4 separate regions of the Homo sapiens genome follow, and regions 2, 3 and 4 are each linked to region 1. Evidence: promoter capture Hi-C in 16 types of primary human blood cells and fetal thymus (Javierre and others, 2016). All regions are on one chromosome and are shown on one strand. Each heading gives the region's core, a stretch centred on a gene start or on the middle of the fragment in contact. The rest is flanking DNA. Distances are from core to core; before and after follow the strand shown.

The links. Contacts are between HindIII fragments. The CHiCAGO score rates a contact against its expected background, and 5 or more counts as called.
Region 2: a fragment that was not itself captured here is called in contact with the fragment with the promoter of HNRNPK in region 1 in 7 of 17 cell types (naive CD4 T cells, fetal thymus, naive CD8 T cells and 4 more); the score reaches 11.0 in naive CD4 T cells.
Region 3: a fragment that was not itself captured here is called in contact with the fragment with the promoter of HNRNPK in region 1 in 2 of 17 cell types (activated CD4 T cells and total CD4 T cells); the score reaches 5.8 in activated CD4 T cells.
Region 4: a fragment that was not itself captured here is called in contact with the fragment with the promoter of HNRNPK in region 1 in 1 of 17 cell types (activated CD4 T cells); the score reaches 5.8 in activated CD4 T cells.

What each region holds. Positions count from the first base shown.
Region 1 is chr9:83,977,962-83,985,195 of GRCh38, forward strand. HNRNPK (heterogeneous nuclear ribonucleoprotein K) reads right to left here and starts at 2,254. Exons shown (of 17, transcript NM_031263.4): 1 at 2,192-2,254; 2 at 412-491; 3 at 234-318. The coding sequence starts at 291. RMI1 (RecQ mediated genome instability 1) reads left to right here and starts at 2,844. Exons shown (of 3, transcript NM_001358291.2): 1 at 2,844-2,930. RefSeq lists enhancers at 1,528-1,687, 2,508-2,557, 2,517-3,024, 2,598-2,657, 2,788-2,857 and 2 more and silencers at 2,228-2,367, 3,178-3,257. The HindIII fragment of the contact is 2,357 bases long and covers 1,201-3,557 here.
Region 2 is chr9:79,562,559-79,569,792 of GRCh38, forward strand. LNCARSR (lncRNA regulator of Akt signaling associated with HCC and RCC) reads right to left here and starts at 5,394. Exons shown (of 3, transcript NR_184113.1): 1 at 5,074-5,394. The HindIII fragment of the contact is 808 bases long and covers 3,725-4,532 here.
Region 3 is chr9:79,582,790-79,590,023 of GRCh38, forward strand. The region is part of intron 4 of TLE4 (TLE family member 4, transcriptional corepressor); the gene reads left to right. Among named protein-coding and RNA genes, the nearest start is that of TLE4, 14 kb to the left of the region's middle. RefSeq lists a silencer at 1,182-1,281. The HindIII fragment of the contact is 6,456 bases long and covers 1,087-7,234 here.
Region 4 is chr9:79,609,643-79,616,876 of GRCh38, forward strand. It overlaps TLE4 (TLE family member 4, transcriptional corepressor), which reads left to right. Exons shown (of 20, transcript NM_007005.6): 5 at 3,014-3,076. LOC124902329 (a long non-coding RNA gene) reads left to right here and starts at 3,083. Exons shown (of 2, transcript XR_007061903.1): 1 at 3,083-3,902; 2 at 5,434-7,234. RefSeq lists an enhancer at 1-2,200. The HindIII fragment of the contact is 1,783 bases long and covers 1,722-3,504 here.

The DNA of each region.
Region 1 (7,234 bases), core at 1,004-3,503:
CACAAAATACTTCAAAGGATTTGAAATCCCAAAATGCAAGAAAAATTCTTTATATGCAAATCAGTTACTTCTACTTCATAAATAAAAGCTAAGATGTAACTACTGATAATCGCAGAATTACATAAACAGTAATACCAAAAATTCACCACACACTCCTAAGGCAATAATTAACAGAAAAAGGCAATTTATTAACAGGATAAAAAAATACTGTTAAAACTAAAATTTCTTCTCACCAAATTCACCATTGGTTTCAGTGTTAGGGAAGGTTTCTTCTGGCTGTTCAGTTTCCATATTCTTTTATTAAACGGGCACACCAATCTGTGGAAAAATAAAGCAGCTAGTACATTTGGCTTATTGGAAAGCAAGCTGTAAAAAAAAAAAAAAAAAAAAGACATTGCTTCTAGAACGTACCAGTTATTATATATCCTTGCAGAGCAGAACTGAAGCGTTCTGGGTCGGACCAACAACTGACACCCCAGTGCTGCAGTAGCCTATAAGAACCAACACAAATCAGTTTTGCTTTTGTTTATTCTTATTACTGAATATTTGTTTCCGATCACAGTGAATACTGATTTGAACCCAAAAAACCAGCTGTTTCTAAAACTTGATTCTTCATTTTAGGGTTTCACAATTCAAATGACTGCCTAAAAAATACAAAATTCAAGGGAGCCTGGTTTCATTTTTTGCTAAGTTAGAACAATAACTTTTAGCCACTGGATTAAGTCCCACCACAGCAATGAATTGTTTTATACGGCACATTCCCAAAACCCTGAAAAGATAAATGTCATCCACAAAGCATACATTTATGAAAAGTTACAATGCATCTTATTCACTGGGAAAACTAATTTTATATTAAAACTTCCAATTGCTTTCCTATTTCTTTCGACTCATGCTTGAAGCGATCTTATGTGACATCTCTAAAGTTTACAAATACAACGGCAATTGCGAACACATCCAACAACCAGAACAATCTACCGGAGGGATAAATCCAAAAATCTAATATAGGACCAGACCCAAACTACCACAATACCAGTCTATTATTAATCAGCGAAACAAATGGAGCCCTTGAAAACTAACAGTCACTAGCGGATTATTTTAAATTAGGCTTAAGGGAGTACAACACAACAATCATGCCTGTAACACGAAAACTAAAGTGTCTACGTGCCAAAACGGTCGATAGGACTACAAACAGCCTTTTTAAGCTTCCCTCTTGTCGGGACTAGGAGTTGACAAGCGGCCTCTACTAGAAGGTTGGCTAGACAGCAAAGAGCCAACAAGCGAGGCACATTTATGCCTCCCATTCTCCCATACCGTTGGTCGACTTATTGCTCTCCTAACGACAACTGAAACGACATCCTTCCGGCCCAGCACGCAATTTCTGAGGTGTGGTGGGAGAAGAGTTGGATAAGAAAGTTTAAGCAAAAACAGCAGGGCTTATCTGTAAGAATAACGTTGCCGCTTGCCGTTCACCCTTCGGGTCCTGCAGTCACTAGTCCCCAGGCCTCAAAAATCCGCTAAGTATGTGCTCCACTGGCCGAGCGCCAACGCGCCCTCCCCTCCCCGCCTCCCGGCACCGAGATCAAAAACAGCCGGGTAACAGGACGGGAAAAAGCGAAAGTCGACAGCAGAAGCACCGCACCTCTCCTCACCCGGATCCGACAGGAAATGGCGGCCCGCGTAATGGCGACTACGTGCTACTAGGCGGAGCCGAGCGCCGACCCCCTCCCCCACCCACCACGCGGTCCCGAGGTCTCATCCCCCGCATCCTCCCCCCACTGCCCGAGACAAAGCCATCGAGGCAGCCCTGACCGTTCCATCCCCGCCGCTCCAGCTCCGACCCCGGGCCGGGAGACCCAAGGTGAGGCGGGGCTCACACAAAGAGAGCGGCGGCGCGACCTTCTCCCCGCACCGGCCTCCTTTCCTCCACGAGGTCCCTAGTTCCCAGTGCCACATAGCTCCAGCTCATCCTAGAGGCACATGCCTCACGAATCCCCAAGTCTCTAGGACCACAACGCGGACTGCGGATACACGCTCAGGGAAATGGCGGAGGTGGGGGAGGGGACACCGGGCAACGTTCCCACTCGGAGAAGCGGCCAAACACCAAAGCGGCTCCCAGGACGCCTCCCTCAAGCGGAAAAACTGGGCTCCGACCCTCACCTCCACGAGCCGCTCCCCCAACCCGGCTCCTCACCGCGCGAGACTGCCGTCCCTCCGCTGCCGCGCCGCCTCAGCCGGTCGGAGCTAGACAGAAAACGAGCGCAGGCTCCCCTCCCCCGCCTTCTCGCGTCCTCCCCGCCGTCGCGCCCTATTGGCTGCCAGGGCTTCAGCGATGGTGCGAGGGCGAAGCGATTGGCCCGAGGCCACGTCAATCAAGGCGACGGAGGAGGCGACAACCCCGCCTCCCGCCAGCGCCTCCCTTCGGGCTGGGAGGCCACTAAGGGCTCGAGAAAACCCGGGCTTGGGAAAAGTAAACGCAGCCTTTCAGGGAGCCCCAACCCTTACCCGAATCAGCAATACCCAAGCTCCAATAACTCCAATTACCTATAGGCCGCGAACAAGTGGGACACAGGCAAGACGTCGAGGTCGGTGCAGCAGAGAAACAGAGGATAATGGCGTCTGCAGTGCTGTCGCCTGGAGCGCCCTCCTCCTTTCTCGTTCGCGCACTCACTAGCTGGGGGGAGGGGCGGCTAGGGGGCGAACCTCTCGCGAGATCTAACAACTGCCTAGTTCACGCGCACAGGGAGGGGGCGGGGAAGGGGCGTTTTCCAGCCCCGAAGGAGTCCTTTGGGGTTGGAGGAGGGGCGCGAGCGCGCGGCAAATCGGGCGGGAAGAGGTAAAAAAGGAACTGGGAGCGCGCCGCGGCGGTTCCTGTCCTTACAGTTGCGCTGCCCAGGGACCGATGTTGCGCGAGGAAAATGCGGGACGCCCAGGTCGGTGCTCGGCCCAGACTTATGCCCGTGTTTTCACAGCCCACACTCGTGCCCGAAGCCCCTTACCCCGCCCCGGGCTGTGGTCTGTGGGCTGTGGGACGAGCTGCGGCGCGGTAAGTGCGGGCCGTCTGCGTCCGCTGGGCCGGGCCCACGCTTCGGAAACCCGTTGTTTGTAATGGTCCGGGGCGCCCGTCAGTCAAGGCCGGGCCCGGGGGCGCAGCTGGCGGTTCTCGGCCTGCCTTGCGCCGGGGCGGGAGCCGGGGAAACGCGGGGCGAGCCTGGGAGTACTGGAGAACTTCTCGCCGAGAGGGCACAGGCGGTTTCACAGGGCTCTCGGTTCTGAGACTTTCCTCTTGGGTAATGGGACCTGAGATGGAAGTATTTTGTAGTGTCGTCGCTGTAGTTTATTCCGATAAAATTTTTAGGCAATATGTATTGCCCTTGTCTCCTAAAATGAATGCGTATCGCTGAATACGTTGCAGACCTCCACGTTCCATTCAAAGCGCCTGCCTTGTGGCAGTGATGAAAACAGACAAAAACCCTTGCCCTCAAACGTGCTCCTGTTCTAGCGGGTTCAGCGCACACTTGCATTGTATTCGGTTCCTTACTTTTAAGGCTCCTGTGCCAAGCTTTCATGACTTCCTTTGTTAAGGCACATAAGGTCACTTTCAATCGGTGACAGCCCTGGGAAATCTCCAGCCCTGGTAGTACCCGCTTTCCACATCCTTACTCGTCAACCTTCCAGCCTCCGCCCACAATCCCAAACTCATTTTGAAGCATAAAGGTGTCATAATCTGCACATAAAGCGAAATCCACCATTGGCCGAATACATGCATATATTTTAGTGTTGATGAATTTGTGCTGATTCATTCCTGTTATAATGTTTCCTTCTTGGGTAATTTGCAAAACATATATACCAGCATTCTTTTAAATGGCCATGATTGCATCCACCCAGCATCTTTTACTTGACTGATTAGAGGAAAACTCTTGTTAGGGCGCACTGAGGATTTCATGACAAACACCAGTATTTACATTCTGGGAGGATACGTTAACACATGCTGTTAGAACATAATGTCCGGGATTGTGGAATTTATAAAAGTTCTCTTTAAGTGATAATATAATTTTTTAAATGGTCCCCACCATGAAGAGTGTATAGTCTTGTTGGGTAGGTAAAACTTAACTCGCATTTCAGTTCTAAAACACAAAGTTCAGAATTTTATTAAATATTCAAAACTGATGAGTTTATGTAGGGGCTTAGGATACTTGGATTATAGAGATTTAATCCGCCAGTTAGTATTTGCAACATTTAATTGAGTTTGTCATTTAAAACCTGAGACATGTCACTGACACTAATATGCACAAATAGCGGTACGGTAATGATGATGCTGTGCTTTCTTTCAAATTAGGATTTATGTTGCAGTCATCATTTTCTTGATAAGGAATGATGAGTGGGAATCACAAGTAAGCAGCCCTATATAAGAACCTCTTCCGGCCGGGCACGGTGGCTCACGCCTGTAATCCCAGCACTTTGGGAGGCCGAGGCGGGCGGACCACAAGGTCAGGAGATCGAGACCATCCTGGCTAACATTGTGAAACCCCGTCTCTACTAAAAAGACAAAAAAAAAAATTAGCCGGGTGTGGTTGCAGGAGCCTGTAGTCCCAGCTACTCAGGAGGCCGAGGCAGGAGAATGGCGTGAACCCGGAAGGCTGATCTTGCAGTGAGCCGAGATCGCGCCACTGCACTCCAGCCTGGGCGACAGAGCGAGACCCTGTCTCAAAAACAAAAACAAAAACAAAAAAAAAAACCTCTTCCTCCCAGTTTCATTGTCCAGACTGGACCCCGACTGGTGTAAATTATTCATCCCCTCTAGATGCCATTGTGGGATGGTTGCTATTTTTCCCCCCATTTGATTTCTTCTTTACGTCTTTTTAATTTTTAGGTTTGCTCTTTAAATAACAGGAAAGTCTTTTTTCTCCATCCTTTTATTCTCTGTTTGAAATTAAGACTTTTCAACCCAATAATTTTATACCTGTGTTCATTCAAGAACTTAACAATACATTCATTGACTCCAGTCTTGTGTAATTGGTACAATGGTGTAATGGTGTAGTGATCACTTTGGACTCAGTGAATTTAGACCCAATATTACTTAGATGGGGGATTTACTTTAGATGGGCTAATATAATTGAGAATGTACACTATCCAGCTGCATTATTGTTTAAAATAGTATTTATAACTACTATTTCCTGAGTTCCCCACTGTGTGCTAAACGTTGTGCTGGCAGTTTAATACTTTTTAGAGTTCTTTGAGCAAGTTGTTAGTTATCTTTGTTTTGTGAACGAATGAACTAGCACTAAGAGAAGCTAAGGAACATATCCAAGGTCACATAGCAAAATGGGGTTCCAGATTCTCTTTCTGTCTTTTCCTTACTTTAGGTTATGGAGGATCCATAAAAATCTCCTCTGATTACTTCTTCTAATTTCAGTCATATACGGTATAAATTTTTCCTCCCTAATTTTCGGAGTATCTTCTCAAAAATTCCAGGATTACCTTGAACTCATCCTCAATGAATTAAAATGTAGACTTACCTTTATTGTTTAGATGAAGATAATGGAACTGTGGAGTAGATTTAAATATTCGTTAGTGCTTTTAAGTCTCAGCTATTGTCAGAATGACACACGTAAGGTCCAAAAGGATGACACTCCTGCCTCGCTTTTTATTAAAAAAAAATTGGAATATATGAGGCTGACTGAAAATTAATCTGTAAATCAAATATGCCTAGACCTTCGTGGTAGGTGATAAAATTTTCCCACTTTATTTTCTTTTGTTCAGTTCCTGGCAGTACAGATCTAGAATGCAGATTAGTGTGGTCAGCCAAGTTTATCATTCATACAATGCTAATCAGCTTTCTTAAAAATGTTTTTTCCTGATTATAAAATTAATGGGGATTAAGCTGTATGTAATTTTATATGTGTTCTTTTTCCCAACAAAATGTGAATGTATTTCTTTGTCATTAAATAATTCTTAAAAATGGTTTCTTTAAAGATTTCATAGCTTTTCATTTCATGGTGGTAGTGCTATGTATTTAACTTTTTTTCCCATTTTGAACATTTTGTTTTTTTCAAAATATAAAAACTCAGTGGTAAACTCTCTGCCACATAAATCTTTGTCTTTATTTATTTTGTTACTTATTGATGCATAAAAGATGTACATAGTTTTGGGGTATATGTGATAATTTAATATATTCACTTAATTTGTAAAGATCAAATCACAGTACCGGGGATATTATCTCCTTAAATATATGGCTTTTCTTTGTCCTTATTTATGATTATGTCCTTAATTCTGGAAAGTAAAAGAAGTGGATAATATGGTATGAACATACCTTTTTTTTTTTTTTGAGACTGAGTTTCGTTCTTGTTGCCTATGCTGGAGTGCAGTGGCGCAATCTCGGCTCACTGCAACCTCTGCTTCCTGGGTTCAAACGATTCTCCTGCCTCAGCCTCCCGAGTAGCTGGGATTACAGGCATGTGCTACCAAGCTCGGCTAATTTTTTTGTATTTTTAGTAGAGATGGGGTTTCTCCATGTTGGTCAGGCTGGTCTGGATCTCCTGACCTCAGGTGATCCACCCGCCTTGGCCTACCAAAGTGCTGGGATTACCAGTTTTGAACATCTTTTTTTCTTTTCTTTTGAGACAAAGTTTCGTTCTTGTTGCCCAGGCTGTAGTGCAATGGCACAATCTCGGCTCACTGCAACCTCTGCCTCCTTGGTTCAAACGATTCTTCTGTCTCAGCCTCCCTAGTAGCTGGGATTACAGGCATGCGCCACCAGGCTCAGCTAATTTTTTTGTATTTTTAGTAGAGACGGGCTTCTCCATGTTGGTCAGGCTGGTCTTGAACTCCTGACCTCAGGTGATCCACCTGCCTCAGCCTCCCAAAGTGCTGGAATTACAGCTGTGAGCCACCGCACCCAGCCCGAACATATCTTACTGTATAATTTAAAAGACAGTTTTCCAAATTTATTATTATTTTCTTGGACAGTGGAGTTCTTTAGGATCAGGAGCTGTTCTTTGCACATGGGAATTTGTGCTGCCCTTGCTAACCTCTGCCTCTGAGCTGCTTCTACCTGCTTGTGACTATGGTTACCCAATTTCCTAAGCAAAGAAGGGATGAAAACCTTAGGAATTATCTGAAGGACTAGATGCCATTAATATAATTTACCAAATTATTAAAGGTCTCAATTATTAATATCCAGTCTAAACTTTATAATATAGATCTTACATAATATTTTTCCATTTGATTAAACATT
Region 2 (7,234 bases), core at 2,879-5,378, 4.4 Mb before region 1:
AATGACTTTCCTTTTAAAAACTGTAATTTCTCTTTAATTTCTCACTGGAAAAATTATAAAAGGTGCCTCAGTCTGGATTACAAATTGGGAATGGCGAGTTATTTTTGCATTTCTCTCTTTCATATAGATGTTGCAAAAATTAGTCAGATTCAGAAATCTACCCTAAGCTATAAAAACACTACACAGTAGCAGCTGTACGGGGGAAAAGTATGCCAATCATGCTAATCATAGATTTTCTATGAGGTGAGAGTAGATGAGGGAAGGAGAATTGCTAGACTGAATGGTGACTGAGTGGCCTCTGCTACTGAGCATTTCAAAGGGGCAGATATAACCAAGGGATGGGGATGGTTGTTATTCCACTTTCAGTGTGTGCCCGTCTGACTCATTAACTCCCTCCATCCCCCAAAACTTCAGTAAAGGCATTCACACATGGCTTGGGTCACGGTACTTCAGAAGAGTACGGGATGTCCCAAAGGGTAGTCTGGTGTGGAAAATGGACAGATGAGCAGGGGGCATAGAAGGGAGATCAAGCTTTCATCAGAAACAAGAAATGACAGAGAAACAGAGGTACTCCCACAGCAATCCCTGGAGCTACTGAGAAGGATGTTGAACTTCTTATTGTACTTGGGTTGATGGTGAGTCATTCTTGTCTAAAGCTATAAAAACAAGGAATCCAGCAGAGGCTGGAGATGAGGGCATCCATTTCCTGACATATGGGTTATACTGATAACACCTTTCTATACATACACACTTAGATTGTAGAGTTGGTGTGTACCTGTATTGATACATACACACCAACTCTGAGCCAGGCCAGTCACTGTTCTCCGAGTTACAGTTTTCAAATTTTTAAGATGGTCACACCACCACCTGCTCTCCCCATCCAACAAGGTTTTGGAAGGAAGGAAAAGGCATGTGGAAGCACTTTGTAAAGCACAAAGCATAATAATCATTGTAAGGCATTAAAAGGCAGCTCTAGGCTGGGCGCCCTGGCTCTCACCTGTAATCCCAGCACTTTGGGAGGCTGAGGGAGGTGGATCACTTGAGGTCAGGAGTTCTAGACCAGCCTGGTCAACATAGCAAAACCCCGTCTCTATCAAAGATATAAAAGTTAGCCAGGCCTGGTGGTCACGCCTGTAATCCCAGCTACTCAGGTGGCTGAGACACGAAAATTGCTTGAACCTGGGAGGCAGAGGTTGCAGCTGAGATCCCACCATTGCATGCCAGCCTGGGTGACAAAGGGAGACTTTGTCTAAAAAAAAAAAAAAAAAAAAAAAGTCAGCTCTAGTAGAATAGAAAAAAAGTGGAATTTGAAAAGTCAAGTTTGATTCCCAACTTGTTTGCTTTACTACTTGTATAATCTTCAAGAGGCCATTGGTTTCTGTGAACCTAGTTTCCTAGTCTGTAAAATGGGGATTATAATACCCATTCTGCTTCTCTGCTGGTACCTTTACATAGTACCAGAGGTAATAATATGTAACAACACTATGTAAACACTCGGGGTTCATATAAAAATAAGGTATCAAATGGTCTTTCTTGCAGACATATTTAATAAAAACCTATAATAAAAGCATTCAAATTTTGTTCTATATAAAAGCAAGGAGCAGAAGCAGAGGGTGTCCCCATGAATGAAAATTTCTCAGAATATCATTGTCTTTTTGAAAAGTAGTAGTGCACTGGACTAGATATTACACTGTGAATGATGGCTCACTCACACTATTTTACAAGGATTGCTATTAAAGGAAGTCATGTGATTTACCAGAATTGTTCCGGGCTACATAATATTGAGGACAAGTCCTGAATTGAATTATAGCAGTAGGAGCCCACATAGTAGCATTAAGAATATAGTTCCTTACAGTTTAGATCATTTTATGAGACAACTAATCAATTTTCAACAAATGCGTCTGCAGCCACTTTCCCCCAAATAATCTTCATTGCAAGAGATAATTTTTTCAGAAGTATTAAAAAGGGGTAAGGAAAATATAATCAACCTCAGCAGATGATCCTAATTCAAAATCCATTCCATATGACCAACTCTGAGATGATAAAATACAACATTTTTTAGAGCAGCAAATGTTTGCATTTAGGGGAAAGGGGTTTAGAGATCATACTTACCTCCCTTAAGGATAAAACACAACATAGATGAGACCAGAAAGGTTAAAGGGGTTACCCAAAGTTAGCCAGATCATGGTAGACCGTGAATTGACCCCCAGTTCTAATGAAAATAATACTAGACTTTCCAGCCAAGCGTGGTGGCTCATGTCTGTAATACCAGAGCTTTGGGAGGCTGAGGTGGTTAGATGGCTTGAGCTCAGGAGTTAGAGACCAGCATGGGCAACATGGTGAAATCTCATCTCTACCAAAAATACAAAAAATTAGCCAGGTGTGGTGGCCTGCACCTGCAGTCCCAGCTATCTGGGAGGCTGAGATGGGAAAATCGCTTGAGCCAGGGAGGTGGAGGTTGCGGTGAGCTGAGATCACGCCACTGGACTCCAGCCTGAGCAAACAGAGTGAGACCCCATCTCAAAAAATAAATAAATAAAAATAATACTAGACTCTTATGAATTATTTTCTTGTACAAAGCAGTAAGATGTTTACTTACACTTTCCTACACCTACCCCATTCCCGCACCACTCATTTCAGAAAGGAAATGCGCAGATTTTCTCCTGTAATGTCTGCCCTATAGGCTGTTGTGATAGTTAGCAAGAGTGGGAGCCTGTGGAAAGGCACGGCAAGAGCAGCTGCATAGGTGTGAACCCTGCTGTTAGTTGAAAGTAAAAGGACTAGGGCTTCAGCACTGTGCATCTCTTTGGAACTTCCTTACTGAGCCTTCAGACACTCTGAGGTCGGAGGCTGAAGGGAGTGAGCCATGCTTCCTGCAGCCATGGTAATTCTCAGTTTCAGCCTTTGCACAGTGGCAGCTGCAACACAGTCATCTCCCTGATTCACCCTCTGCCCCCATTTTTGCAATAAAACATCTGCTTGAAAAGGAGTAAACCAGGCAGGTGAGTTGGATAGTGCTCAAATTACATACTTTAATTGAATACTCATTTGTGGAATTCAGGTTTATGCAAGGTATTAAATCAGGAGGTAGGAGACAAGAGTTCTGATCTCTGCTTCAGTACTTACAAGCCATATAACCTTGGGCAAGTGACTTATTTCTGAGCCTCAGTTGATTAATCTTTAAAGTGGGGATAATAATATCTTGTTTGCTTAAAGGCAGGGGAATGAAACAGAAGCAGCTGTTAAAGATCCCTTCTAGATTCTAGAAAATTAAAGACAATGTGAGCGTTCCTCAAGTAAGGGAGTCATTTTTAGTAGTGTATTTCTTAGATATGATCTCTGTTATAGAGTATAAATAAGTTCACAGCTCTTTTTAACTATTCAAGACAACTGTTCAGACTAGCAAGAAGTCAGGGTCTCCCTCAGCTCCATTGTTGACATAAGGTGTGCCTATAAAAGTGCTATGCAGCCTTATCTTCCTCACACACTCAGCTATTTATCCCGAAGCACCCCATTAATGCCAGGATGTCTAATCCAAAAGGAGATTTGTATCTTCAATAAAGAGTTATTTCCGAATGAGAAAGATCCATACTTCCTGCCTCTGTATTGCAGCTAGTGAATTTGGGTCACTGGTCCATTCTCCTGTTGACTTCAGCTGCGTTCTAGATAGCCCCTCCCACATACACCACTGTGTCTGCACCATAATCTCCGGGAGGGAAGAGAAAGCTTCAGTGCTCCTTCTTGCCTGCAGACTTAATTAGGGATAATCTCAAAGCATTCAAATAATGTAGCGTTTCAATAAGGACAGTTATTTTGTCCCAGAAGCCTCCTTAGTACCTATGCAAATTTGTCCACTGCACTCCCAAGCCAAGTTCCCTCCCCACAAAAAGGCAACGGGTACCTACATTCCTTTTATCCATCAAGATAAGAAGGGACATCCCAACACAAAGATAGCTTGGCAGTCTTCACCACTAAACATTGAGGCAGCTGGCAACAAACCTCTACCTAACCAGACAAGTTAAGAAATTTGTCACTCTCTTTAGCATTGATGTCCTGAATCTTTTTCAATAATGAGTTTTCTGTCCAGTTCTCTCTATCTTAACATAGATGGGAGGATGGTTTCTGAGCAAGTCAATTGCAGATCTAGAAATGGATGTGCATGTCCTTGATTCTCTATGATCATTGCTGTTCTAGCTATATATTCAATGCAGAGCTTGACATTCAAACTTGCATAGGCATCCTCTTTCCAAATTAAAATGGACCCATCACTCATTAGTGGGGGTGAGGTAGTGGCAGTACCAAAGGATGTGTGTGGGAAGGGCAGCATATGTGCTTCTGTACTCTTTATCAGCTGCCCCCAATTAAAAACAATTGATAATTCTTTAATATGACAAAGGGTACTTTCTTAATCTTAGGTCAAGTATGAACGTGGGCACCTTATACCAAGTTGATATTTGTAATGATCTTGTCACTCCCTGCTTACGAGCCTTTCTCCCTCCACAATGGCTATTATAATCAGAGTAGAAAATGAAAGCTTTTATTAGGCATAAGAAGTTCAATGTGACCAGAACCCAGTGATGTAGCCATGACCTAATCTTATATTACTCTGTGTCTAGCATGTACCAGTCTTTAAAAAATGCTCACATTCACCAACACTTCCTCAAATGAGGCTTTTGAATCCACCTGAAATTTGCTTCTCAGTGATTTTTGCTTTGGCTGACTCTTTCTAGGCATTCAGGCTTCTGCTTAAATGTCACCTCCTCCAAGAAGGCTTCTATGAACTCCCATCTGAACTAGTTCTACTACTCCTGTCACTCCTTCATATTATGCAACTGTTTGTCTATCTCCCCCCATCAGAATGTAAGCTCCAGCAAGAAAGACACTTTGCTTATGTTGTTTACTGTATCAATCGGGATCCGATCAAGAGAGAAAAACAGTAATTTCAACAAGGAAAGTTCAATATAAAAAATTATTACCTATAACAGGGAATTGGATCAAAGGGAGATTGGTAAGAGGTAAAGAGAGCTCTAAATAATACAGAAATAGAGATATAAGGAACAGCTACTTACTAACCCTAGGGCTGAGATACAGCATCTCAAAAAGAGCTCCTCCAAGACACAGACACACTCTTAGGGCTGGCTGAGATCCAGACTTTGCTGGAGAGGGCACAGTTGTAACTTTCTGAATAGCAGGAGAGCCCTGCTAGAATTCTGCCTTCTGGAACTTGCTAGAAATCCACATTCCAGAACTCGTTGGAAATCCATTCTCTGGGGTTCCAAGGAAAGCTGCTGAGGGAGGTGACTCATTAGAGGCACTTGCTCCAAAGCCACCTAAGGGGCTTCTGGAGGAAGCTGCTGGCTGCTGGGTGCTGCTGCTTGCTACCTGTGCTGTAGGAACCTGCCCAGTATGCAACCAGAGCCAGGAACCAGGAAACCAAACCCTTTCCTCCTGCAATGTCTCTCCAGCGCCTTCTATTGACCTAGCTTTTTTAACAGCTGGAAAATATTTAAAGGGCTCAGATTCAGTTTCACTAGGCAGGCAATGAGGATGAATTTGGAGCTAAGAGGCAACATATTAATAATAGCCACTTTTATTGTGAAATCCCCATATTCTGGCACATAGTAGGTTTAATAAATATTTGGTGAAGTAATAAATAAATGATTTACATCTAACCAAAGTGAAAAGCATGCTTGGCATATGTCACTTCAAGATTGGAGCTTTCAGGCCTAGCTTTTAACATGAAAGTTGCTGCCAAGTGCCTCCCACATGAAAACTCTGGAACACCCCACCTACCCCCCACTCTGTGGTAGGGATAAGACAGGCCTCCAGATAACATCATAGCTTGGCTCAACAGTTAGCGAGAAGTGCAATGAGAGAAGCACAGCAGAGAAAAGGAGAAAAAGTGGCCATGAGCCCCACTTACAGTCTGTGTTACGGCTAGGGCTGGGCCGCCAGTTGCTGCATTTGCATCTTTCTGAGACATTGAGGTGAGTTACATAGCTCTGCCACGTGGCCAAAATGTGAAACACATCCAAGGGCTATATTTTAATACAGAACTTAAAAAATAAAGAAACATCTTGACTTCTCTAGCCACTTTCCTGTTGACACAAACCATCGAGAGAGATTAGGGGAAAGATCCTTGCTATAAGTGATCTGATATTTCCTAACAGAGCAAAGTTTCCTCTTTGTCCACTGACCCTTTCAATAGTTCTTCGGGTTCTATTCTTAGAATTCTCGTTTCCTGTCCTGAGAGAAAACTGCACAGAATTTCAATAAATATGACCCAAATGATGTGGAAACTTCCTATAAGGATGCAATGAGGTATTCATTCATTAATGCCATCAACAAATATTTACTGAGCACCAACTACCAGACAGTGATGGCAGACATAATTTGGGGAGTTTGGAGTGCAACTGTGAACACAACCAGGTCCCTGTTCTCATGGAACTTGCTAACATTCTGGCTAAAATAGAGAACATGGAACTTCCTACAGAGGCACTGTGGGTGATTTCACAAACCATTGAAAAGCTCTAGTGGGAGCAAGCAACTAACCAACCTTAGAATAAAACATGGTTGTTGCTGGTGTTCTTAGAAACTTCGCTGTCCTCGTGTGCAAATTGTATCACTAAAGTCTTCTCACTTTTGATTCTTGGGAAGGTTTCAGGGCAGGGCTGTCTAATGGAAATATGTAAGCCTCATAATTTAAAATCTTCTAGGAACAAAGTTAAAAAAGTAAAAAGAGGCTGGGCACGGTGGCTCACGCCTGTAATCCAAGCACTTTGGGAGGCCGAGGCGGACGGATCACCTGAGGTCAGGAGTTCAAGACCAGCCTGACCAACATGGAGAAACCCCGTCTCTACTAAAAATACAAAAAATTAGCTGGGTGTGGTGGCGCATGCCTGTAATCCTAGCTACTCGGGAGGCTGAGGAAGGAGAATCGCTTGAACCCAGGAGGCGGAGGTTGCGGTGAGCCGAGATCGTGCCATTGCACTCCAGCCTGGGCAACAAGAGCGAAACTCTGTCTCAAAAAAAAAAAAAAAAAAAAAAAAAAGTGTGTGCCTGCAGTCCCAACAACACTGGAGGCTCAGGCAGGAGGATAGCTTGAGCTTCAGAGTTTGAGGCCAGCCTAGGCAACACAGGAAGACCCCCATCAATACAATAAATAAATAGAAACAGACAAAATTAATTTTACTAATATTTTTAATTGAGTTATTCAAAATATCACAATTTTGAC
Region 3 (7,234 bases), core at 3,065-5,564, 4.4 Mb before region 1:
ATGACTCCAGCGTTCCAGCAATGGTGGTAGGTTCAGTGGTCCTATACTAGCTAAGTTATTACCAGTTTTGTAAGCTGGGCTGTTGGAGAGAAGCAGGGGGGCAGCACATTTACGCATGGGCAATGGAGTATTTACACTGATAATGACAGTTTGCAAGGCTTAGGACTTGTTCAAAGTAAGTATACTGCGAACAGTTTATGAAATTATTACTCTAAAGAGGAAGGGCCTCAGAAGTTTTAGTCAGAAGCAAGAGTTAGAGCTGTTTTGTCTTTGCCTTAGTAATAGCTCTCAGTGGTAGTTGTTTTCTATCTATGGAGAGGGATTTAGCTGGCATTCATCACCACAAATCTATATACCCTCTCTCTTTTCATTGGAACTTACCCAGCATTTATGCCAGGCTGTTGCTATTTCTATATCATTGACCCAAAACTTATCCCTGGAGAGCTGCACGTGTAACCCTTATTCCATCCAGGGGTGACACATGGGCAGGGTGTGGATTTTCTTAGCTGGTTCATCAAATAAGCAGAAGAGAAGTACTCTGGGATACCCCTTAGGTACTCTGTCCTCTGGTGAGTGGATCGCACTGTCATCTCTTTTGAGGATTTGCCCACACACATTTCAAGAATTGTATGGTGGAGGCAGCTTCTGCGTTTCACGGAATGAAAGGATAACTTCTCTCCCGGTGCGAGACAATACTCTATCCCCAACCTGGGCTGGCTGTGGTGTGCTTGGGACCTCTGCAGGGCCCTGTTGCTTGCAGCAACCTAGGCAAAGTGAGAGGTTGGGGAAGGAGGAGGGGGGATATTGGCTTTTTCATTTCTTAGCAGGCTTATTTAACTCATTATTATTATTATTATTATTGTAATTTGGGTTCTGTCCTTATTTTCGAACTATGTATTCTGTTTCTGAAGGTCTGTGGATGATTTTGGTTATTGAATTTGAAACTGCAAGAAAATATAACTGGAAAGAATAGTCATAGTAGAAATTATAAGCACTAGTACTCTGTAACACCCTTTCTTTACAGAGAGCTTAAGGCATTTTATATGTTCTCTTTAATGTTCCTTATGTTCTGTGAAGCAGGTAGCAAGCTTGGATCCATGTATTTATTTAAATAGCTTCTGTCAGTGGAGTACCCAACAGTTTGCCAAGCAGTGTCATTCTACTGGCCTCCTTTAATAGATAACACTGAGGCTTAAGGGCTTAAGAGACTAGCCCAGTGTCACAGTCAGGGAGGATCAGCACGGGGGTGGAGATACCAGAGTTCACGCAGGTCAGCGAATGCGCCTGAGGTTGCATAGTGAGAGTCACTGGCAGAAGAGGAAATAGTAGGTTTCTTGACTTCCCTTCCAGGGCTCCCTTCGCTGACCATGCTGTTTCCAAACAGCAAATAACATGCTTGTTTCTATGATGTGTTTGGCTTTCTGCAACATGAGGAGCATGGTGATGCTACTGGCAGTCCAAGAGTGTTACACCGTCATCTCTAGTGAGAGATCTGATCTGTGTTTGTGTTTGAGGACAGCTCCTCCCTCCCCTCCCTTCTACCCTCTCATTGCCTCTGCCCTGCCCAAAGGGAGTCTAGGATCAGCAATATTGAAATATAAAGCCAAGGTCCACTTTTAGAAAAGTGCTTGATAAAACTGGCTATCTGGCATTCCTGAACTGTACCATGCAAACACACTGTGTTAGATACTTACCTGTTTATTTCCTGTCTCTCTCTCGTGCTAGATTGTAAGCTCCATGAAAACAGGAGCTTTTATTGTTTACTGCTGTGTACCCGGTGTTGAGCCCTGTGCCTATCGCATAGTAGATGCTGGTGCGCAATAAAATATTTGGTGAATGAGAGAATAGCAGTTAGAGCTAGCCAAGAATATGTGTGATTTAATATTTTTAAGGGTATATTAGGTTGCAAGATAGATAACAAATACTGAATCTCAGGCATACTTAGGTCTGTGTTGTCTACTAGTTTGTGGAAAAGTGACACTTGGAAAGAGGAAGCAAAAGCAACCGAACTTGCTGTGCCTTTGAGGAACAAGTTAGTATAGCTAAAGTAGAATGTATGTATTTTAGTATGTTGAGTCTGCCTTTTTAAAGATGAAAACATGAATCATTCCAAACAGAATTTAAAATTCAGTTTGAACGTCACTGTATCACTAGTCAGTGTTTATCTGAATAATTCTTTTACTATTAATAGGTCTGTGTACCTGTGGTTTGAATGAATGTGGAGCAATATCGATCTTGACTATATTGTGTGTTTAGCTAACTTCCCTGCAAATCAGTAAAAAATGCAAGGTTTTAGTTCTTTTCAAGGGACAAGGAATTTTGAAAATGTCTTAATTTTTTTTATTAGTAGAGATAGTATAACGTTGTTGAAAGAATAGTAATCATAACAGTAAGCAATTTTAGATTGCTTATAGTGTCGATAATATTTCACTTATTCTTACAACAATCTTATGAGATTATAGTAGTAGTATTATTTCCATTTTACGTATGTTGGGGCTGAGACACAGAGAGCTTAAATAGCTTGCTTGAAATCAGCTAGCCGGTAAAATAGATCTTGGGTTTGACTCAAGGTCAGAACGCTGGTATGACAGATATTTCTGCCTTATTCCAGTTGATATGTTTGGAATACTCCACCATCAGCATACTTACTACCTTCCCCCAAATGCTTGACTGATTCCGGAGCCTCAGATTCTAGTTCTGGCCTTGCTAGTCACCAGCTTTGTGATATTGCTGAGTACCGTACCTTTAAGGGCCATGCTTTTCTCATCTTTAACTTAGGGCGTAAGTGAACGCCCAGATCTCTTTTAGCTCTTTTGGTTAAAATGACCATTTCAGTTTGGTTTGTTGCTGTGATCCAGTGAACAGAAATTGAATTTTTTTTTTTCAGTCTTAGAAAGTCTCTTTTAGCACTTATTTTCAGAATTTTTAAAATCCAAAGTTACCCAATGTGCCTAGGAGTAGAAATGTATATTTATATACTATTAATACTTTATTTTTTATAAGGTACTTTCTCATCCTTTTTTTTCATGTAAACCCCAATAATAAAGCATTCCCCCCGTCCTGTGGATGAACACAGTGAGACGCAGATGTTAGATGACAAAGTTCTTCACTTAATTAGTAGGTGGTTTACAATTCACTGATTCTCTTATGGCCAGCGTTCAGGCTAAAGTAATGTTGACACAGAAGTAGAGCAATTTTCATAAAACATGTAATATAAAAGTATATATAACATAAAATATATCAGTATGTCTTTAAAGTGATTAGTTTTTGTACTTTTCCTTTGGCATATATTAGAAAACTTAGGCTGGGCACGTGGCTTACGCCTGTAATCCCAGCACTTTGGGAGGCTGAGGTGGGTGGATCATGAGGTCAGGAGATCGAGACTGTCCTGGCCAATGTGGTGAAACGCTGTCTCTACTAAAAATTAACTGGGCGTGGTGGCGCATGACTGTAATCCCAGCTACTCGGGGGGCTGAGGCAGGAGAATCACTTGAACCAGGGAGTCAGAAGTTGCGGTGAGCCAAGATCGCGCCACTGCACTCCAGCCTGACGTCAGAGCAAGACTCTGTCACAAAAAAAAAAAAAGAAAAGAAAATTGTGTGACTTCTGAAATTGTATGAATTATAAAGTGATCCAATAATTTTCTTCCAAAGATGTGCAAAGGGACTATGTAGCAGTTTATTACCTGTTGTGTAATTAGCTCCGGGGGTTACTCTTCTAGAATCTAAGGTAGGTGTCAGTTTCTCTAGCTTGAGGTAAAGCGTGTCTGTAAACTGTGGCTTACAGTGAGCTTGACATCTCAAGTCCTCAGGACTTTCTTGCTTTGTCCCATCAAGGACCCTTTCCTTAGGGAAGATAAATTCATTGTAAATAAATGACTTAATCATAAGTAGAAGAAGGGAGAAATGTTTAATCTTGGCCTTTTGGAGTTTATAAATCAAAGACACAGTAGAGATCAAGTTCCTTCATTAAAGTGTAGTTCCAAAAAGGAAGAATGTGGTTTTGGTTTTAAAAAATTTTTTTATTTTTAATTTTTAAGAGTACATAGTAGGTGTATGTATTTATGGGGTAAATGAACTATTTTGATACCGGCATATAGCATATAATAATCACATTCGGGTAAATGGACTACCCATCAACTCAAGCATTTCCCTTTTTTTGTGTGGGTTAGAAACTTTCTAGTTATACTCTTTTAGTTACTTTTAAATGTACAATAAATTATTGTTGACTGTAGTCACTCTGTTATGCTATCAAACACTATACCTTATTCATTCTGACTATATTTTTGTTTACAGAAGAATATGTTTTGTTCACTGCTGGTACCACTAGCACCTAAAACAATGCCTGGAATATAGTAGAAGAAATGAATGAATGAATGATGGAACAGCTAAAGGAGTGGTTTAATTTTTTCATTTTATTGCATTTCATGTAGCATCACATATTCTGAGTATCAGCCACCTTTATATAAGCTGTCTTCGTTTCTGAGTGCTTAGGGAGGGCCTGGCTTTATGCTGAGCAAAAAAGGCCTAGATAGGCAATCAGAGAGTGGGAGTTCTTATCTCAGTCTGCTACAGGTCCTTGAGCTGCTGATTGGCATTTTTAAAATTTAGAATTGGATTCATACTTTGCCAGATGATTTATTTCTAAGATATCTTTCAACTCTTAACATCATATGATGTTTAAATGACCAGCTTAAAAATAAAATTCATCCCTACTTCCATTGCTCGGTACTATAGGCATGCCATTTTAGTAAGTTAAGTTTTAAGATAATTTTTATAAGAGGAAATACAGCCAGGTTTTTTTTTGTTTTTGTGTTTGTATTTTTGTAGAATCTCACTTTGAGCAATGTTAGGCTATTGTGTGGACAGCTAAAACAATCCTAATATTGCCAGTGTTTCACAACCTAGAACCATCTGCTGTGTTGCTTTTTTTGCAGTTGTAGCTGCATCTTCCTGGTCCTTCTATAGGCTAAGAGCACATCAGTAAGTACATATAGTTAACAGATTTTTCATATGTATATCTTGGGCAAGTGTTAGTGATAATAAGAGCAGTTAAAATTTATCGAGTGCCCACTGGATACCAGGTAAAGCACTAAATGCTTCAGATGTATTAATTTGTTTAATTTGTAATCTTTTGAGGAAGGGATCTGATTATCCTTATTGTGTATGAGGAAACTAAGGTAAAGAGAAGCTGAGAAATTTGCCCAGGGTTATATATAGCTGGTAGGTTACAGAGTAGGGGTGTCAAGGCCAGGCATTCTGGCTTGAGAACCTACATTCTGGTTTTGAACCACTGGCAATAAATGTCTCATAAGTGACTATGGTAAACTTCTTTGTTTATCCTTGCGTGTGTGTGTGTGTGTGTGTGTGTGTGTTTTGAGATAGAGTCTCGCCCTGTTGCCAGGCTGGAGTGCGGTGGCGTGATCTCGGCTCATTGTGATCTCCGCCTCCTGGGTTCAAGTGATTCTCCTGCCTGAGCCTCCTGAGTAGCTGGGATTACAGGCCCACACCACCACTCGCAGCTAACTTTTTTGTATTTTTAGTAGAGACGGGGTTTCACCATGTTGGCCAGGATGGGCTTGATCTCTTGGCCTCGTGATCCCACCCACCTCGGCCTCCCAAAATGCTGGGATTACAGGTGTGAGCCACCGCGCCCGGCCTATCCTTGTTTTCTAAATGAAAAAACAAATCGTCTGCTTCTGTGTTCTGTACACAGTGAGCTTAAATGTTAAAAATAATAGCTGGTATCATTTGGGTATTTTGTTTTGCAAATTAACACACTAGATTAGTGGACTCATTCATTGGTTCATCTTTTATCACAGATTCTACTGTTTGTCCGTGGCTGGATAACCACAGGCCTCTAGATATTTTTGTACCTCTGACTGTGAGATTTCTAAAACAGGCATGGCACCTTCTTTTATAACCACGTGTCACATGGGAATGTTCAGGGAACTGTAAACTTTTGAGTGCCTGCCTGGGGTGGAGGAGAGATGGAGGTTCTTGGCTGGGTTTGAAAGGTTCTATATAGTTCTGGAATTTATATGCATAATTGTGTACCTTTTTTGTGGGGGCAGAATCCATAGCCCTTACTGGTTCAATGAGGAAACTGGAACCCAAACAAAAGAATTAGGGAGGTACTGTGCTAGAGCAGTGGTTGCAAACTGGAGCAGTTCCTTTCCTCAGAGGATGTCTGGCAATGTGATGATATTTGGGGTTGTCACAACTTGGAGTTGCTACTGGCATGTAGTGGGTAGAGTCTGGGATGCTGCTGAACATCTGCATGTACAGGACAGCCCTCTACAACAAAGACTTAGCTGGCCTAGAATTTCAGTAGTGCCAACACTCAGAAACTCTGCTCCAGAGAGAAGAAAATACTATTAAATTCTGTTGCCTTTTTATGGCCCGGAGAGTTATAGGTTTGGGGCATAATGACCTCTTTGAGTAGAGAAAGGCCAAGTATGAGCATTGTCTGGCTTCTCTAGTTAAGTCAATTTGAGAGAATCCTTTAAACGTACTTAACCTTTTCAGGTTTTTTCCTCCCTTTCCCATGATGATAAGCAGAGTGGGGTTGGTGGTAGTTAAGTTCTGAATAGAGATATTACATGATCCTTTGTAATCTTCCTTTTCCTAAAGAAGGGACCGTGATAAACCTTCTCGGTGGGAGGGACTTTTCACACTTAAGTTCAGCTTCTCACTGGAAATCAGCTTGATTTCCACTGAAAACATCCAGATCTTTGTGGTGCTACTACTGCGCAAGGCAGAAGACATTTTCAGTGGAGGTATTGGATTGGCAGAAATTTCTTTATGTGAGACCCATTAGTCCTGTCCCCCATCGAAGTCACTAGAATTAGTCTTACTCCTTGTCTAGGTTTTTCAGAAGTGTTGCCCTTTATTAGCCTTCCTTTGTCCATGCTGGGCATTCTCAGTCATTTTAACCATTCTCCTGAGACACCAGTCTGGTTGGTACCAAGATGTATATGATAGACCGGGCTGCCTGAGAATTCAACGTGACGTTTCTGGCCTGATTCTACCCAACTGAGGCATTAGGGCAGATCTTATTGCAAAGTAGCCCTTCTGCTCTTTCTCTTTAGGGCAAAGTACATTATATTTGTCTTTGTCATGTCCTGATCACACTGTAATACACAAAATGGAACCTTGAGTTTTGTAAGTAACCTGAGTCCACAATATGGGTTCGTTTTTATTTTTGAATGTGTGGGCGCTGATCAGTGAACCTG
Region 4 (7,234 bases), core at 1,363-3,862, 4.4 Mb before region 1:
TGTCCTTTTATTGGGGCTGTTAATGCTATTTTAGAATATCATGAGCATCTGAAGGCAATAGTTTAGCAGTGTCCATAAAGCATCAAATACCATTATAATATCTAGTAACCCTAACAGCAATATTTCAGAATCCCTGCCTGTTTAAATGGGCTATCTGTGAATGTACTTGCTCAGGGATGCATGACCCACATCACCTATAAATTTGATTGGAAGCTAACAGTACTGGCGTAGCCTGATGGATAGCAGATTAGAGCCCTGATTAACCATGTGATTCAAAGACTGGGAATATATTGTCTAAGCAAGATTCATCAGATGCAATCAGAATTTCAAGTGGTCAGATGAAATTCAAATGTGTGTTGTGGCTTTTCCTCCCCTATTGCTTTTCCTCCTAGGTTGCCTTTTTTTCCTTCTTTCCCCAAAGCTGAAAAATACTTCTTTGATGAATCTGCTCCTTACCCTAAAGCTGTCTGTCTGTTATTCATCAGAAAGCAGGTCGCAGTTCAGTGAGCAGAAGAAAAGATTTTAATAGAAGCTGTGCCAAGGGCTGTAATGCATCATTTTAGGGCCCTAATTACATTACAATGACAAATATCAATGGTGACAACAGCAATAACCTACATCCTTTAATGGCTGTGCTGGAAAAGGAGTTTGGGCCCCACGCCATTATATTAGACTCAGTTTCAAAACATAGGCCATTAGAAGTGTGTGTCCACAGTGTTATTGGCTGATCGCTAAAGCCCAGTGGAAAGGCCTGTAAATAAATGATGCCTCCCTAAAGCTGGGTCCTGTGGGACAAAAGAGGCGAAATTAGATGACCATGGGAGCAGCAGTGTTTCCGAGGCAACTTTAGATTTCAAAGTGAAGAATGACCTGCTTAATTTTATGAAATCACACACACACCCCACCCCCCCACTGCCAATTAGCCTGACCATGAAAATCCATTGGCATGACAACTTAAAGAAATTAAGAAGTCTTTTAAACAAAAGGAGATCTTTAACGGAAGTTTGGAAGGTTTCTGCCCTCCCGTTTCTGTTGTGTGTGTGTTAACCTATGTGATTGAATAAAAAGGCTCTTCTCCTTTTTACATTTATTTTTAAGAAAATGTAGAATTTTTTTAAAAAATAGTTGCTCAGACTTAATACAGCCTAGGTCCAAAATTTTATTTCACCAGATGAATAAGTTTCCTTAGAGTCGTTTTTATTGCCTAGATTATGTAGGCGAACTAAAGAACTCAGTTTTCTTATGTGCCCACACATTTTTCAGCCCTCCTAGCAAGGGACTATTTTATTTATGTAAACAACATAATGACGAAAATATGCTTGGCAGATGGTTCTAAGCATTAGAATCATCAGTTTGGTCTGCCCCAAAGTGTCTCATTATCTTTTATTCTCTCCCCCTCCACCTCTCCCTGCAAAAAGCTTAACAACCAAATGCATTTGAGATGCTGTACTTTCAGCCTGGTGAATGCTACTCTATTTTTATTGCTCACCCTGGAATTTCACCCCATAACCACTGTGGTATGTTCGTCCAGGTGGAGAGTGGTTTGGTGATTCCCATTGCAGCTCTTCATGGTGGCTTAAGCATTCTTAAAGGATGGCTAAATGCTCCATGGGGCCAGTGCAGTAAATTAAATCAGGTCAGCACAGTTGGGTCCTTATTCACTGCAGCTTATTGGTGCTGGGTTTTTGTCCATACTGTTAGGAATGCAGGCTGGAATGGAAAGCTTGGATTTGAAACTTCATGGTGAATTTGTGTTTTCTTTTGGCTGGTAAAGTTTTTAAGGTGCTGGCATTTAAAAGATTGCATAGCTACACAGTTAGAAGGGTTGCTGATGAAAGAAGGAAGCCTAGATTGCACAAGTAGAGTGTCACTGTCATTCTGGTAATGACTTGGCAAGAAAAGGCATTTTGGGCCTCACATAAAATGAGGAACTGACCCTGGATGGAATTTAAGAATGTCTTAGGGATAGTAATTGCTTTACATTTTCTGCCTTTCAATTCTTCTTAGCTCTCTTTCCTCCATTCCATCATTAAAATATAAACTATTTTGTATGTACGTGTATTAAAAAAAACTGTGTATTTATACATCACAAAATATACAAGGCACCATCTGAAAAATACAAATTAAGATAAACATTGGTAAAACTGTGAGTAACTTTTTAAAGAAAACATGTAGTGGTGGTTTTTCTTTTAACTTACTGTAGCATCTTATTGGTTTAAAATGTCTGTACTTATAAAAATTATTAGAGAATAGACTGTTCTTTGACATTGTTGGGACTTTTGCATATCCACAGTAAAAAAAAAAAAAAAAAAAAAAAGTTCCCAAGGATAGTTTCCAGATACATACAGATTGCTTCCTGCTAAGTGTAATAAGATTTTAGCATATCTCAACCTCTGCACACTGAAAACCTTGGTAGGACACATTTGGAAATTTTTATGGTTGAAGAAAACATTTTGTTCTCCAAGAATTTGTAAGAATCCGAATTAGCCAACTTTTTTGGGTTGTTTGGGTGCTGCTGTTTCAGAAGTTTAGGGTCTTGAGTTTAAAATCACAGCACCAATGTTTTTAAAGCAAAGGCCACAAATATAGAAATCCAATGATTTGCTAATTGATGGAGTTGAGATGTAGGAAAGAATGTATCTTTACTTATCTAAATTCTTAAGACTTAGAAGACTGCAGGTTTTATGGAAAACATTAGTATGAGCAAGGGTCCTGGTGAAGGCTGTTGAAAACTGATTTCCAGTCATGGAAATTAAATTCCATTTTATATTGCCCTGATGCTTGAAGGTTAACTTTTTAAGATGAATGCTGGTTAATAAATTGTGCTGTTAATGTGGCACTGTTGTCACTGCTTCCTTTTAATGGGCTTACTGATGAGATAGTTTTCCTCTTCCTTAGGAAATATGCCAGCCAAATTATAAAGTATGTTTTAATATCATCCTGTTAATATTTGGGGAATCTGTAACCAGCTGACTGTTCTCTTTATTGCTTTCCTTTCCCTTATTTTTTGCAGGCAGAGATTGTCAAGAGGCTGAATGCTATCTGTGCACAAGTCATTCCTTTCCTGTCCCAAGAGGTAAGGTAGTTGATTTTAGGCACTGGACTAGAAGTTGCCATTTTAGTGGTTTTGCAGAAAAGGGATTGTAGAACTGACTCTCTGGCCTTGCCAGTCTCTTGGTGTTTGTATTTTATTTTCATTTCTAAGAAACAGTGTTCTCACTCCAACTTGTATACCTTAGTAACTTTCTGTGGGATATAATTTATATGTGTTTACATAATGGAATATTTTCTAGTTGGGCTAAGCAAAATTCAGTCGTTAAAATATTTTGCTATCTTTGTCGTGTTGCTCAGAATTATGCTTGTTTGTCATAATGGTACCTAATAGGGTAGACTGAAAAATTGCCAGGAAAACAGGAGCTTACTCTGTACTATTGTCATTGGGCATTAAGAATTGGCAGAAGACATATCAAATGGAAAGACTTTTTGTAGTAAACAAACTAATGAAGCTTTTGGCTAGCTACTTTTAAACATTTACTTCTTGTTTCCTGATTAAGTCTTTATATTATTGTGCTTTTGGGAAAAGACCTGCAAGATGAACTCATTGAACTCGTTTCTCTGAGTGCCACTTTTCTCAAAATTAGGCTTTGGTGATGGTAGGCTTAGCACATTGCTAAGGCCTGGCATGCGGCTCACTAGTTCTCTTGCTCACCTACAGGGGAAGTGCATGCCATCAGCAAACAGGCACAGGTTGGAATAAAGCGATGCATTTCTAGTGCTTGTTGGCTTCCTTGTGGTTTTTTTTTCTCTCCCTGCTTACTTTTGGTAGTTACAAAGTTGAAGTGAGAATACTGGAAAAAGATAATTTTTTGCTTCTGGATTACTGAATGCCTTCATTTGCTCAGGTAAGATCCACTCTAAGAAGGAAGGAGCTAATGAAATATCTGCATGTCTTGTAGCCGCAATACTTTGTGCTGTGGGCTGAGAAGGCACAGAGGCACTTTTCTTCCTACCCTTTCAGTTGTTCTATAAGTGTGTTGTGTCACTGCTTTTCAGGAGAGAGGTTCATTCACCTGCTTGCCAGCGGGCATGTGCCAATGTTATGTGGCCAATATTTGAGCCTGCATGTGTATTATAGATATGCAGATTGCTGTATATGATTTTTTTCTTTGGTCTGGACTGGGTTAGACTTGAGTAACTATGGGTACCCTTCATAGGTATATACTGGGGAGGGGGCACTCATATTCACAAATCTTGTTGACACTCTGAATTCACATGCTCTTTTGGGTCTTGATAAACAAAGGGTATGTTGTCTTTTCTCCTCCTTTAGCTGTGACCACAAAACCTACCACCAGTCATGTCCCCATTTGCCTGTTTTTACTTAGGATTTGCTTATGGCTAGATTAGATGGCTTGGTGAATGAGAGTCAAGGGGTGTATCTGCATTTCTTTTGGAAACCTGACTGCCCCCTGCCTGATCCAGACTAGTGTGTATTTTTTACTTTAAGCAGCTCTGCTTTATGGAGATGGAGAATGGGAAGAATGTGTGACCTACAGAGCTGTAACCAGGCTGGGGTGTCATGTTCTAAGGTGACAGGGAAAAGTTCGAATTATCCCTGGGGTGGTATTAGACTTTGGGCCTCTGTAGGCACAGACCCCTGTATATGATCGCTGGTATGGCTTTGGTCTCATCACATTTCTGCAGGATCTGTGGGTTGTGTTCAGAAGTAGAAGGTTGTCTTGGGGATGTTGATGAAGCTGATTTGCCAATGAGTTGTTTTCCCACATGAATTATGTTGTTTGTGTGAGCAGGCCCAGTGGGAACAGAATGTATAATGGTAGTGGTGCTGAGCAAGACTGGACTGAAATTAATTGTCTAAGGAAGTTGTACCTGTAGGTGAAAGCCATGGGGAGATACTGACAACTCATTTGCTCTAGTCTGGGAAGAAAGGTGTCATACTTAACTGTTGTCATACCACTTAACTATTTATTTCCCAAATACTTTGACATTTCTTGGTTGAAATCCTTGACTCACGTATAATGATTTATGCCAAGCTTGTGCAACCCCAGGGCCTGTGGGCCACATGTGGCCCAGGATAGCTTTGAAAGTGGCCCAACACAAATTTTAAACTTTCTTAAAACAGTATGAGATTTTTCTTTGCAATTTTTTTTAAGCTCATCAGTTATCGTTAGTGTATTTTATGTGTAGCCCACATAAAATGGGATGTGTGTGTGATTTCTTCTTCCAGTGTGGCCCAGGGAAGCCAAAAGATTGGACACCCGTGATCTATGCCATGGTTTTCTAAATGCTAGTTCTGTGTATATATTTTCTTTTGCTTACTTTAGATTTAATTTACTCATCTTTTTCTAGTTTCCTAAGGTATGTGTGTATCTTTTATTGTGTGAGACACAAACATGTTTGTTTCCTTCAAATCAGGGCATCTCTGATGTTTTTTATCTGAACATCGTCCACCTTGTTTCTTCTTCTGTGCATTCTGTGAGCATTGGACTCCTTGCTTCTGCCCTGAAGCCAGATGGACCATAATCTGGAGGGAGGGGAGGAGCAGGTTAGTAGAGGAAGATGAATTCTGTTTCCTGTCTCTTCAGAGGCATGGAAAATCACTCTTGCATGGCTGTGAGCATCACTGTGCCAGGACTGAAGGCTCTTAATCTGATCTTTTAACACCGGCTCTCTGTGTGACAGTCTCGCTACCAAAACGGCAGCTGCTGCATTAGAATTTATTTTAAAATGTTTTTATTTAAAAATTAAATGATCGTATTTAGGAAAAAGCAAAACAATTCCTGAAGAGTAGTGCATAAGCTAACAGAACATTGGCTGGAGCGATTGTGAGCATCTGAAGTCAGGCTTTTTGGAGTTTGACAGGAACAAGGGGTATATTTACATACTGTTAGATGAAGTCTCTTTTTAATTTAGCCCCCATGTGTTGATTAATATACCTGCTTAATATTGCTTGCGTCTGGTTTACCGCATTTTTTTAAACTTAAAAAAACTATATAGTACTGAATGATAACTATTAAATTTAGCTTTAACTTCAAGACTTTTTCTTTTTAGAAATGAGTTGTATAATTGTGTTCAGAAGTACTTGAAGTGTGTCTGTATATGAAAATCACAGAAAAATATTTTCCTATTAGAGTTTACTAAAACATTTAAAAATATTAAAGCCAATATATACTTTAATAATGTGCTGTTGCACTCACGTACAACTGCTTCCAGCGTTACAGGCATTTGACAAAGATATTGCCAACTCTTGTCATTAAAAGTGAGTACTCATCACTTGGAGTTCATAGAATTTCACAGGATTCTCAATATCAGAATTTAGAAAAACCTTGTGAACCCTCATCTGTCCCAAGCTGTTCTTTTCTCTCACTTCACTTTTTAGCTTTTAGGAATGGATAAGACTCAAATTTATTCTTCAAAAAGCCATCTCAAGGTGGTAAACGGGAAGCTCTTTTCTTTCCCTATTTCGGTCTCATTTGCAGGGGAAGAACTATAAATATCAACTCTGAGTTGGCAGTTCCATAAACAAGAGATGCCAGGATGATGACAGTTGGATCTGGGTCCTGGCCTCCCTATTACAAATCGTGTGGTTTACTCTAACTGGGCTAAGCTGGGTGACCTTTAGCAAGTGATGTGCCTCTCTAAGCCTCAGTTTCCTCATCTGTATGATGAAGTTAATCATAGCGTGAAACACATCCAATGTCTGTGAAGATTACTTGGGATTATACCCAGGTAGCTTAGCACACAATAAGCACCTACTGCCGTTGACTAGTGGGATTAACTACAGTAGCAGCAGTGGAGCTCTGTCTCCTCTTGGGAGGAGCTAGAACCAGCCCTCCCTCCCTTTTCTAATCATTGCATTTGGGAAGAATGTGAATTGATTATCTTCCTCTCTAATGTCCTTATAGAAGAAAAAATGAAAATTAAAAGTGAACCCAGGGCCTTGAACTAGCTAAAAATCTATGTTTTTGTTTCCATTGGCAATTTTGGGATATGGCTTATAGACCCTTAGACCTCAGTGGGTCCTTAGTAAAACTGAGGATTGCCAATAAATATTGTATTGCTTCCAGTATCCCAGTAACAACTCCTCCTCCATCCCCCAATTCCAGGAACATATCTATGTAGAGAGTCTAAGGTGGACCTAAAACTCTACATCACTGTTACACCCTGGCAGTAAGGGACAGCATTTCTGCTAATTTAGAATTGGGCTAGCTCTCCC